3 separate regions of the Homo sapiens genome follow, and regions 1 and 2 are each linked to region 3. Evidence: promoter capture Hi-C in 16 types of primary human blood cells and fetal thymus (Javierre and others, 2016). All regions are on one chromosome and are shown on one strand. The core of a region is centred on a gene start or on the middle of the fragment in contact, and the rest is flanking DNA. Distances in the headings are between cores, read along the strand shown. Region 1 overlaps LOC124904784 (a long non-coding RNA gene). Region 2 overlaps ZNF329 (zinc finger protein 329). Region 3 holds the start of ZSCAN4 (zinc finger and SCAN domain containing 4).

Region 1 (4,056 bases), core at 1-2,500, 500 kb before region 3:
TGGTCTTGATCTCCTGACTTCGTGATCCGCCCACCTCGGCCTCCCAAAGTGCTGAGATTACAAGCACGAGTCACCACGCCCGGCCGTTTTAAAACTTTTAAAATTAAAGTTTAGTCCAGTCACGGTGGCTCACACCTGTAATCCCAGTACTTTGGGAGGTCAAGGCATTAGGATCACTTGAGATCAGGAGTTCAAGACTAGCCTGGCCAACATGGTGAAACTCTGTCTCTACTAAAAATACAAAAACTAGCCAGGTGTGGTGGTGCTTGCTTGTAATCCCAGCTCCTCAGGTGGTTGAGGCAGGAGAATCACTTAAACCCAGGAGGCAGAGGCTGGAGTGAGCAGAGATCACACAACTGCACTCCAGCCTGGGCAACAGAGTGAGACTGTTGTCTCAAAAAATTAATTAATTAAATTAAAGTTTATATGTAACCTTTATATACATAAACTATATAAGCTTTAAACATATATATACACATAAACATATATATAGGCATAAAGTCCTCAACTTCACAACTTGATGAGTTTTTTTATATATGTCTAAATATATAAATATATAATGTCCATATATAAAAATCCATCACACAGGTCAACAGAAAATATATTTCCAAAACCCTGTACCACTTCCTGGTTAATATCTCCCAGAGTTAACCACTATCCTGATTATCATCATAAGTTTTTTTTCTGTCCTCAAACTTCATATAAATGGAATCATATAGTCTATGGTTTTCTGTGTCAACATAATGTGTTAGAGATTCATCCAAGTTGCTGCATGTATCAGTAGTTAATGTTTGGTAAATTGCTGAGTAGTATTCCACTATGGATGTACCACATTTTGTTTATACATTTTATTATTGATGGACTGCTGGGCTGTATCCAGTTTTGGCCCCTTATGACTAATGCTTCTATGAGTGTCCTTTTAGATGTCTTTTGGGGACATGGCTCATACTTCCATTGTAAGAAATTACTATTATGTTCTCTTGGGCAGTTTTTCCAGAAAGAATACAAATTTTGAATGCTAACAGGTCTGAAAATGCTTACTCTCTCCTCATATGTGTGAATGATATATTTGCTGAGCATCAAATCCTGAAATCAGAGTCTTTGTGTTTCTGGAATCTTCACTTATCTTCTAGTGTCCAGGGTTTCAGAAGAGAAACCAATGCTGCTTATACATACCCTGTGCTCTTTGTAAGGGATTTGCAATGAAACTTGTGAAGTTTGCACTAGTTTTGGAGTATGGGTACTTCACCAGACTATGATGTCTTTTTAACCCTGCCAAGACATTGGACATGCCCTTAGAAATGTGAAGATACGTACAACTCATTTTTTTTATTTTTTTGAGATGGAGTTTTGCTCTTGTCACCCAGGCTGGAGTGCAATGGCACAACCTTGGCTCACTGCAACCTCTACCTCCCGGGATCAACTGATTCTCCTGCCTTAGCCTCCCAAGTAGCTGGGATTACAGGCATGTGCCACCACACTCAGCTAATTTTTCTATTTTTACTAGAGACAGGGTTTCACCATGTTGGCCAGGCTTGTCTCAAACTCCTGACCTCAGGTGATCCTCCTGCCTCGGCCTCCCAAAATGCTGGGATTACAGGTGTGAGTCACCGTGCCTGGCCAACATACAACTCTTTATGATGCTTCTATTCAAGTAGATAGAAGAATGCTATTGGCAAAGTATTAGCAAGTTAGTATAAAGCTCTCTGATTTGTTTGGAGTGATAATATTTGGATTATGCAGAAAAAAATTGATAGCATATCCTTCAGCCCTCATCTAGGACTATCATAAAATTATACACATAAGGATCCCCATGATGCTAAAAGGTGTATGATTCCTGCACCATTCTTCAAGGTTGACGGTTCTTTTATTCATACGTGATGTAGAAAAATAGATACGCTGTTGCCATATGATTCCTGCACCATTCTTCAAGGTTGACGGTTCTTTTATTCATACGTGATGTAGAAAAACAGATACGCTGTTGCCACTGATAACATTTATGGGCAACCCGCTTGGGTCCCCTTCCACACTGTGGAAGCTTTGTTCTTTCGCTCTTTGCAATAAATCTTACTGTTGCTCACTCTTTAAAAAAAAAAAAATTTACATGTGATTACCTATGACAACCATTTCTCTTCTTTTCTTTTCTTTTAGACAGGGTCTCGTTTAGTCACCCAGGCTGGAGTGCAGTGGTACCATCTCAGCTCACTGTAGCCTTGACCCCCTCAAGCAGTCCTCACTTCCCAAGTAGCTGGGACTACAGGAATGCACCACCACGCACAGCTAATTTTTGTATTTTTATTAGAGACGGGGTTTCTCCATGTTGCACAGGCTGGTCTTGGACTCCTGAGCTCAAGTGATCCACCTGCCTTGCCCTCCAAAAGTGCTGGGATTACAGGTGTGAGCCTCTGTGCCCAGCCATGATTATCTATGGCAACCATTTTTTTTTTTTTTTTTGAGATGGAGTTTTGCTCTGTTGCCCGGGCTGGAGGGCAGTGGTGTGATCTTGGTTCACTGCAACCTCCACCTCCTGGGTTCAGCTATTCTCCTGCCTCAGCCTCCTGTGTAGCTGGGATTACAGGCATATGGGAGACATTTCTTTTTCTTTTTCTTTTTTTCTTGTTTTTTTTGAGACGGAGTCTTGCTCTGTCACCCAGGCTGGAGTGCAGTGGCACGATCTCGGCTTACAGCAAGCTCTGCCTCCTGGGTTCACACCATTCTCCTGCCTCAGCCTCCTGAGTAGCTGGGACTCCAGGCGCCCACCACCACACCCAGCTAATTTTTTTTTTTTGTATTTTTAGTAGAGACGGGGTTTCACGGTGCTAGCCAGGATGGTCTTGATCTCCTGACCTCGTGATCCACCCGCCTCGGACTCCCAAAGTGCTGGGATTACAGGCGTGAGCCACTGTGCCCAGCCGCATATGGCCAGACATTTCTATGAGACATTGTTCATCAGGCCTAGACCCTGAGTCCCCATTAAATGGTGTTTCTATGGCAAATTAGGGACATATGTAGAATAGAACTGCTTATCCCTGCTGATCTGTGGCTGCAGGGAGTCACAAGTTTGCAGTCTTGTTACATTCAGATACTTAAGAGTTAAAAAATAACTGGTGGCTTTTGCCTCCTTTATCCCTGATGTCAAATAAAATGGAATTCCAACCAATAGCTTTTCCACATTGATCTTTTTTCAATGAGTTTTTCTAATTTGTTTGAATTTCCTGGTGTCAAATAAGGTAAAAGCCATGGTTGAAAGCTTGCCAATACTGACTGCATTCATAGTGTTCTCCAGTATGAGTCCTCTTACGTTCAATAATATGAGAACAACTCCTGAATGCTCTTCCACGCAAATTACATGTATGGGGTTTTCCTCAGTATGAGTCCTCTGATGTCACATCATAAGGGCTAGGCTACGTCTGAAGCCTTTCCCACGATGACTGTATCCATCACTTTGCTCTCCAGTGTGTCTTCTGTGATTTTTGAGTAGTGGAGGAGCAAAGTGTAAAACCTTTCCCTGAATGATTCCCTTCATAAGGTGTCTCTATAGATTCTTAGCTATAGGGTAAAAGTGTTCACTTCTTTAGAAGAATTTCCTAAATTCACTGCAAATATATAATTTCCCACAAGTATAAATTGTCTCATATTGAATAAGGTATAATTTGTGTCTACAGCCTTTGCTACAGCGATTACATTTATAGTATTGTTCTCCTGTATAAGTTCTGAAACATACTGAAAGAAATATTTCTTAATAAAGACTCTCCAACACTCAACACATTTGTAAGGTCTATTTCCTGAGAGAGTTTGCTCATACATCAGTGGGGTTGAGCTCTGTTTAAAGACTTCTTTACACATACTACATTTATATGGTCTCTCTCCAGTATGACTTCTCTGATGTCAGAAAGTATTTACCATAAACAGGGATTTCTCACATTCAGAACATCTGGAGGGTTTGTCAACTGTGTGAGTGCTCTCAAAACAAAGATGAGAGGAGCTCTGAATACACTTTTCCACATTCCTTACATTCAACTCAACTCTCTCTAACATGAATTCGCTTACATTGAC
Region 2 (4,160 bases), core at 1,188-3,687, 460 kb before region 3:
ATGGTTGTTCATTTAGGATGCTTCTAATTCAGCCACTGTGAACCATTATAAAGGTTTTATTGCCATGTTGAAAATGTTTATAATATGGCAAAAAGGGGCATCAAATAGAAGATTTACTATTATTCCAGCCATGTAAAAATATGTGCACATATGGATGTATGTTGAAAGTGGATGATGGAGAAATAAAATGTGGTTTTCTTTGGGGACTGGAATTTTGTATCATATTTTTTTCTCTGTTACAGATACTTGTTGGCATAATAATTTGGTAATAAATTAAAAAGTGAAGCCAAAAGGAGGTTAATTTGGGGTTTCTTTGGACCTTTAGTAGTAGGGACTGGATCAGGGCAACAGGGAAGCTGTAAGTGTGGATGGAGGGGCATTGGGCAGTAGCGTCTCTGGAATCAGCATCCCAAAGCCCAGGGCATGAGAATAACTTCCTTCTTTGGGACTTGGGTTATAAGGGGTTGTCAGTGTAGAAGAGAGAGTGAGTCCCAGAGAATGGAGAACAGGAAGCCTGTAGAAAATTTGGGATGACTTTGGAGTGGCCCTTCCGAGGCAGTGCAGTACTGGCCGAGTGAAAGCCAGTCAAGGTGGATGACACAGCCTTGAAGCCCCATGAGTGGATCCCCTTGGGATTTTGCCTCTAGACAATTTCCTCTCCTGGGAGAAGGGACAGGTGTGACGATAGTGAAGATTAGTGATGAGTCAGTCCAGGACTGGGGTCAGCCAGGCCCATTGTATTAGCTGGATCAAGGTTCATGTGTGTGTGACCTGGTGTCTCCATGGTGCTGGTATTCTGAGGTCCGGACCCTCAGGCCAGCTCGTGGGGAGCTTCAAGCAGCCATGCCTCCTTCTCTGTGTGTGTTCTCTTTTGTCTGGCATCAGCTGTGGCCTCCATGGCACTTGCTGTCTCCCATGAGGCAGCCAACCTTGGTATGCCTCTGATAGCTGTGTCATGGGAAGGGTGGGCAGCCAGTCCTGAGAGAGGAATGAGTAGATAGGTAATGGAGGCACGGAGTGAAGAAGGGAAGAGTGGCCCTGAAAGAGCATTTAGAGAAGTAAAGCTCCCCCACACACATTGGGATATGGTGATCTCATGGTGAGAGGTGCAGGGGCATGGAGGACTAGCGGGGACCCTTGTTGAACCCTCTGGAGTCAGGATGGGATGGTGCTGTGTCCCAGGGTGTGGTGATGGATGAAAGGGGACCAGGCTGACTTGTCTTCTCCAGAGAGTTGCGTTTGAGTATAGCTCACATACAGAAAAGTGCACTGCAGACTCTCCTTGACCCAACTTAAATCAGGATCCCCTGAGCCCTCTGACCTTGGGCTTCTCCCTTTCCCTATAGGATCCAGTTTGAGCAAGATGTTTGGATGTGCATAGTAGCTCACACCTGTAATTTCACCACTTCAGGAGGCTGAGGCAGGAGGATTGCTTGAGCCTAGGCATTTAAGACCAGCCTGGGCAACATAGCAAGACCCCCATCTCTGCAAATAGTAATGTAAAAATTAGCCAGGTGTGATGGCATGTGCCTTTAGTTCCAGCTTATCAGGAGGGAGAGTCAGGAAGAAGGCAGAAGAATCTCTTAAGCCTGGGAGTTTGAGGCTACAGTGAGCCGTGATCACACCACTGCACTGTGGGCTGGATAATGGGGCAAGACCCTGTCTCAAAACAGAATCTGATATGGTTTGGCTCTGTGTCCCCACCCAAGTCTCATGTCAAATTGTAATTCTCTTGTTAGGGGAGGGACCTGGTGGGAGATGAATGGATCATGGGGGCAGATTTCCTCCTTGCTGTTCTCATGATAGTTCACATGAGACCTGCTTGTTTAAAAGTGTGTAGCACTTCCTTCTTCATTCACCCTCTTTCCTGCTCTGCCATGGTAAGACATGCTTACTTCTTCACCTTCTGCCATGACTGTAAGTTTCCTGAGGCCTCCCAGCCATGCTTCATGTACAGCCTGTGGAATCGTAAGTCAATTAAACCTCTTTTCTTCATAAATTACCGAATCTTAGGTAGTTCCTCACAGCAGTGTGAGAATGGACTAGTATAGAAAGTTGGTAACAGGAGTGGGGCACTGCTATAAAGATTCCTGAAGCTACTTTGGAACTGGGTAATGTGCAGATGTTGGAACAGTTTGAAGGGATCCGAAGAAGACAGGAAGTTGAGGGAAAGTGTGGAACTTCCTAGAGACTTAAATGGTTGTGACCAAAATGCTAATAATATGGACAGTGAAGTCTGGGCTGTGGTGGTCTCAGATAGAGATGAGGAACTTACTGGTAACTGGAATAAAGGTCACTCTCGCTGTGCTTTAGCAAAAAGACTGGCAGCATTGTGCTCCTGCTCTAGAGATCTGTGACAGACACAACTTGAGCTTGAGAAAGATTATTTAGAGTATCTGGCAGAATAAATTTCTAAGCAGCAGTGTTGGAGAGGTCGCCTGGCTGCTTCTTAAAGTCTGCACTCAATTGCATAATCAAAGAAATGACCTAAAACTATAACTTACATTTAAACTGGAAGCAAAGCATGAAAGTTTTGAAAATTTGCTGCCCATTTTCTGGCAGGAATCAAAGGCTGCAGAAATGTACATAAGTAAAGAAGAGCTGAAAGTTAATAGGCAAGATAATGAGCAAAATGCCTGCAGGGCATTTCAGAGACCTTCTCAGCCGCCCCTCCCATCACAAGCCTGGAGGCCTAGGAGAGAAAAATGGTTTTGTGGGCCAGGGTCCAGGGCCCCAGTGCTCTGTGCATCCTCAAGACTTGGCATCCTGCATCCCAGCTGCGTCAGTTCTAACTGTGGCTAAAGGAGGCCAATGTACAGCTTGGTCTATTGCTTCAGAGGGTGCAAGTCCCAAGCCTTGGCAGCTTACATGTGGTATTGGACCTGTGGGTGCACAGAAGGCGAGAGTTGAAGTTTGGGAGCCTCTGCCTAGATTTCAGAGGATGTATGGGAACACCTGGACGTCCAGGCAGAAGTCTGCTGCATGGGTGGAGCCCTCGTGGAGAACCTCTGCTAAGGCAGGGGGATGGGGGAAATGTGGGGTTGGAACCCCCACACAGAGTCCCCACTCAGGCACTGCCTAGTGGAGCTGTGAGAAGAGGGTCATCATCCTCCAGAGTCCAGAATGGTAGGTCCACCGTTAGCTTGCACCGTGTGCCTGGAAAAGCCACAAGCACTCAATACCAGCCTGTGAAAGCAGCCACAGGGGCTGTACCCTGCATTGCCACAGGAGTGGAGTGCCCAAGGCCTTGGGAGCCCAGCCCTTGCATCAGTGTGACCTGGATGTGAGAAATGGAGTCAAAGAAGATTATTTTGGAGCTTAAACATTTAATGACTGCCCTGCTGGTATTCAGACTTGCATGGGACCTGTAGCCCCTTTGTTTTGACCAAGTTCTCCCTTTTGGAATAGGGGAATTTACCCAATGCCTGTACCCTCCATTGTACCTTGGAAGTAACTCACTTGCTTTTGATTTTATGGGCTCATAGGTGAAAGGGACTTGCCTTGTCTCAGATGAGTCTTTGGACTTGCACTTTTGAGTTAATGCTGGAATGAGTTAAGACTTTGGGGGACTGTTGGGAAGGCATGATTGCATTTTGCAGTATGAGAAGAATATGAGATTTAGGGGTGGGACAGGGATAGAATGATATGGGTTAGCTCTGTGTTTCTGCCAAAATCTCATGTCAAATTGTAATTCCCAGTGTTGGGGGACAGACCTGGTGGGAGGTGATTGTATCATGGGGGTGGATTTCCCCTTTTGCTGTTTTCATGATAGTGAGTGAGTTTTCATGAGACCTGGTTGTTTAAAAGTGTGTAGCACTCCCCACTCCACTTTGATATCTGATCAAATTCCTTGTCCCCCACCTTCAATGTCTTCTTCCCTGGGCCTGCCTTTAGGAAAACTTCTCTTGAGTTGGTCTGGCAAGAATTCACCCCTTATCTCTGAGGTTTGCACTTAGTAATTTTTCATCCTCCAGACACCCTGCTGCTTCTCGGCTTTAAGCCCTCACTTGTTCTTGTCCAAGCTGGAGTTGAGTCTGGCCTCCCAAGCCCCTCTGTAGTAGCTTCTGGAATAAAGCCTGCCTCACCATGTGTTTGTATGAATGGAATTAGATGTCTGCCTGTTGCACAACATTGTGTAGGTTAGACTCATCCATGTTGCT
Region 3 (3,946 bases), core at 754-3,253:
AGTGAGCTGTGATTGGGGCTACTAAACTTTAGCCTGGGTGATAGAGATCTTGTCTCGAAAAAAAAAAAAGAATTACTAGAACATAAAGTCATACGATAGACTTTTTGAAGAAAAATCTTCAGTCACACCAGGCCTTTATACAGAGTTCACAACATCAAGCCCTTTTGGGTCAGAGCTGTTGTAACAAAAGACCATTCCCTACACCTGGGAGACCCCCATATCTCTGTAGTTAGGAATTTTCCTGAAATAGCTATGCCTACATACACATGTATACACACTCAAAGACACAAAATTATGTATACACACTCAAAGACACAAAATGTATACACACTCAAAGGCACAAAATTTTCCTTCCATTATGGAAGCTTACCTCCTTGGTTGACTGGGTAATCCCGGGCCGAACACTGAGCTGATGTGTGACTAGCTTTCCACACTGGGTTTATCTGATGTGCCTCCTAAGGCTGCTCCCTTTTATAGGGGCTGGGATCAGTGATTGATTTAAAGACGTGATTGGATAACACTTGTCTGTTGATTGAATTACTGATGGAATCTTCATCCAGCCCCAGCTCCATGTCAGTGATTGATTTAAAGACGTGATTGGATAACACTTGTCTGTTGATTGAATTACTGATGGAATCTTCATCCAGCCCCAGCTCCATGTCTCTAATACAGTGTTCTATACCATCACTGGTCCTGGGTCAACAGGTCATAAACAAACACATTAATATTTCTGCAGGCTAGGTGCAGTGGCTCACACCTGTAATCTCAGCACTTTGGGAGGCTGAGGCAGGCAGATCACCTGAGATCAGGAGTTCAAGACCAGCCTGGCCAACATGGTGAAACCCTTTCTCTACTAAAAATACAAAAATTAGCCGGGCATGGTGGTGGGCACCTGTAATCCCAGCTACTTGGGAGGCTGAGGCAGGAGAATTACTTGAACCTGGGAGGCAGAGGCTAGAGTGAGCCAAGATTGCGCCACTGCATTCCAGCCTGGGAGACAGAGCAAGACTCTGTGAATCCCTAGCCTGAGCAACAAAGCAAGACCCTGTCTCTACCAAAAATAATGTTAAAAATGTTAGCCAGGCATGGTGGCATGTCTGTGTAGCTTGTTTGAGCCAGGGAGTTCATGGCTACAGTGGATTATGACCGCCCTACTGAACTCTGGCCTGGGAAATGGAAGGAGACCAAGTCTCTAAAAAAAAAACAAAACAAAACGAACAAAAAAAAAACCATGCCTGTAATCCCAGCACTTTTGGAGGCCGAGGTGGGCGGATCACGAGGTCAAGAGTTCGAGACCAGCCTGGCCAATATGGTGAAACCCCATCTCTACTAAAAATGCAAAAATTAGCCAGGCGTAGTGGCGCGTGCCTGTAGTCCCAGCTATTCAGGAGGCTGAGCAGAAGAATTGTTTGAACCACAGAGGCGGAGGTTGCAGTGAGCTGAAATTGTGCCACTGCACTGCAGCCTGGGCGACAGAGGTAGACTGTCTCAAAAACCAACAAACAAACAAACACACACAAAAATACAAAATCTGCGGTAAAATGTAACAAGGTCCACATTAAATGAAAATATAAAGACAGGCTGGGTGTGGTGGCTCGCGCCTGTAATCCCAGCACTTTGGGAGGCCGAGGCAGGTGGATCATGAGGTCAGGAGTTTGAGACCAGCCTGACCAACATGGTTAAACCCGGTTTCTATTAAAAATACAAAAATTATCTGGGCGTGGTAGCATGCACCTGTAATCCCAGCTACTCAGGAGGCTGAGGCAGAAGAATTGTTTGAATCCAGGAGGCAGAGGTTGCAGTGAGCCGAGATTACGCCACGGCACTCCAGCCTGGACGACAGAGCGAGACTGTGTCTCAAAAAAAAAAAAAAAAAAAAGGAAAATATAAAGACAAACGTTAGTCTCACAAATTCTGATCAAGTTTTATTATAAATTACTCATAGAAACATGACAAACTTTTGCTCAAACTTTTAAGTTTTCAGAGATTTATGAATTACAAGGGTGGCAGAGGGCAAGGCTAATGCTGTGACTCCTGTGCCAATTCCAGGCTGGTGAAACAGAGGGGGCCCGGGACCCAGAGAAGGCATTCCTAATCCATCAAAAAGATGACAGGGGTTGAGACTAGGATTATATCAGTGGAAAGGGAGAAATTGGTGCATATTTTATATTGAGAAAGCATATGATGTTTGATAGACTTAACATGAGGCTTGAGAGAGATGGAGGAGTTAAAATGGTGAGAAGCGCCTGGTCACCTAGTGTGGTGGAAGCTGTGCCTTCTTCCCTGCACTCTCCCTCCCCACTTTCCACCCTCATACAGGCTGAGGCTTTGGTGGAGTTGAGAACGTATCGAAGGGGTGGGAGCTAATTACAGCCATGTGTTTCATCTGCTCCATCAGGCATGCAGCCTCTTGGGGCTTAGATTGTCCCCCTATCACTGTTGGGTACAGAGTTTGAATCTCCTGGTACTCCACTGATGAAATGTCTGCTTGACTTCCCCACATTAGGAATTATGTTCTGAATCCTCACATTATAAGACTGTGTACTAGTCCATTTCTCCAAGGAGTTTCATCCACATATACTCCATACAGAGAAGTATCCCTGCTCCCATCAAGAGCCAATTTTCCACTGGTGGTTTAGGTCCTGTCACCAACTATGTCATTAAACCAACTGTGACAGGAAAATTGGCTCTTGATGGAAGCAGGGATACTTCTCTGCTACAACAATGAAAAATGGGCTGGGCGCAGTGGCTCATGCCTGTAATCCCAGCACTTTGGGAGGCCGAGGCGGGTGGATCACCTGAGGTCAGGAGTTTGAGACCAGCCTGGCCAACATGATGAAACCTCGTCTCTACTAAAAAAATACAAAAATTAGCCAGGCATGGTGGCAGGCACCTGTAATCCCAAGTACTCGGGAGCCTGAGGCAGGAGAATCACTTGAACCTGGGAGGCCGAGGTTGCAGTGAGCCAAGATCGCACCACTGCTCTCCAGCCTGGGCGACAGAGTGAGACTCTGTCTCAAAAACAAACAAACAAACAAACAAAAAACAAACAAAAAAAAAACAATGAAAAATGTAGACAATGTGAGTACCACTGGAGGCCAGTTGTTAATTTGTGGTGGGTTGAAAGCATTTCCTGTCTGCTTCTGCAGTCTCAAGGAGTTCCTTGAGCTCTGTAAGGAGCTGTAAGGAAAAGGTTTGGGGAAAAGCTGGCAATTTCTGTTTGGAGGAGGTTATTGGATTTTTGAGTTCAGATATACAGCCAGCTGTTGGACATGCTGGTGTGTAACTCTGGGAGCAGTTAGACCTGAGGCACGATGATATCAGTAAGAGTAGTAATAGCATCAGGGATCATAATAACTAACCTTTAAGCAGTCAGGGCATATTTGACTCTGTTCTCAGTGCTTTCTGTATGTTAACCCATTTCCATCACAACAGTCCTGTAAAGTAGATCCTAAATAACTCCATTTTAACATCAAAATAACAGAGGCACAGAGAAGTTCAGTACCTTGGCCAGTGCTACATAGCCTGTAAGTGGCTGGGCTAGGATTTGATACCTGGCTCCAGAGTGGGACTCTGAATGCTACATTAAGAAGGCAAAGACACACAGCCACTGTGTAAAACCAGCAGCTTTCTAGGGAATGGGCTAATGGAGGAGTGAAGGGCATGAGCAGGAGGATTTATCCTTGGGGAAACACAGATGGTGGAGGAAATGACCTGGTGATACCCCAACTTAGGCATAGAATAAACAGGCACAAAACAATAAAAATAAATGTGAAATCCACATAGTAATTTAATCAAATAAGGATATTACAAAGACAACTATCAAATGCTTTTCTGATCAATTGGGAAGGCAGGTAGTGCTGCCTTTGGTAAAAATAGATGACCCGTTTACATCCAGCATCATCTCAACTTGTGTCTGGTGAGTATCCCCGCTCCAGTGTGAGTG

The links. Contacts are between HindIII fragments. The CHiCAGO score rates a contact against its expected background, and 5 or more counts as called.
Region 1: a fragment that was not itself captured here is called in contact with the fragment with the promoter of ZSCAN4 in region 3 in 2 of 17 cell types (total CD4 T cells and total CD8 T cells); the score reaches 6.2 in total CD4 T cells.
Region 2: a contact is called between a fragment that was not itself captured here and the fragment with the promoter of ZSCAN4 in region 3, in 1 of 17 cell types (activated CD4 T cells). The highest score is 5.1, in activated CD4 T cells.

What each region holds. Positions count from the first base shown.
Region 1 is chr19:58,166,224-58,170,279 of GRCh38, reverse strand. All of the region lies in intron 1 of LOC124904784 (a long non-coding RNA gene), which reads right to left. Among named protein-coding and RNA genes, the nearest start is that of ZNF274, 15 kb to the left of the region's middle. The HindIII fragment of the contact is 1,581 bases long and covers 460-2,040 here.
Region 2 is chr19:58,122,380-58,126,539 of GRCh38, reverse strand. ZNF329 (zinc finger protein 329) reads left to right here. Exons shown (of 4, transcript NM_024620.4): 4 at 1-292. Among named protein-coding and RNA genes, the nearest start is that of ZSCAN18, 26 kb to the right of the region's middle. The HindIII fragment of the contact is 5,091 bases long and covers 1-4,160 here.
Region 3 is chr19:57,666,992-57,670,937 of GRCh38, reverse strand. ZSCAN4 (zinc finger and SCAN domain containing 4) reads right to left here and starts at 2,003. Exons shown (of 5, transcript NM_152677.4): 1 at 1,735-2,003; 2 at 371-693. The HindIII fragment of the contact is 4,258 bases long and covers 368-3,946 here.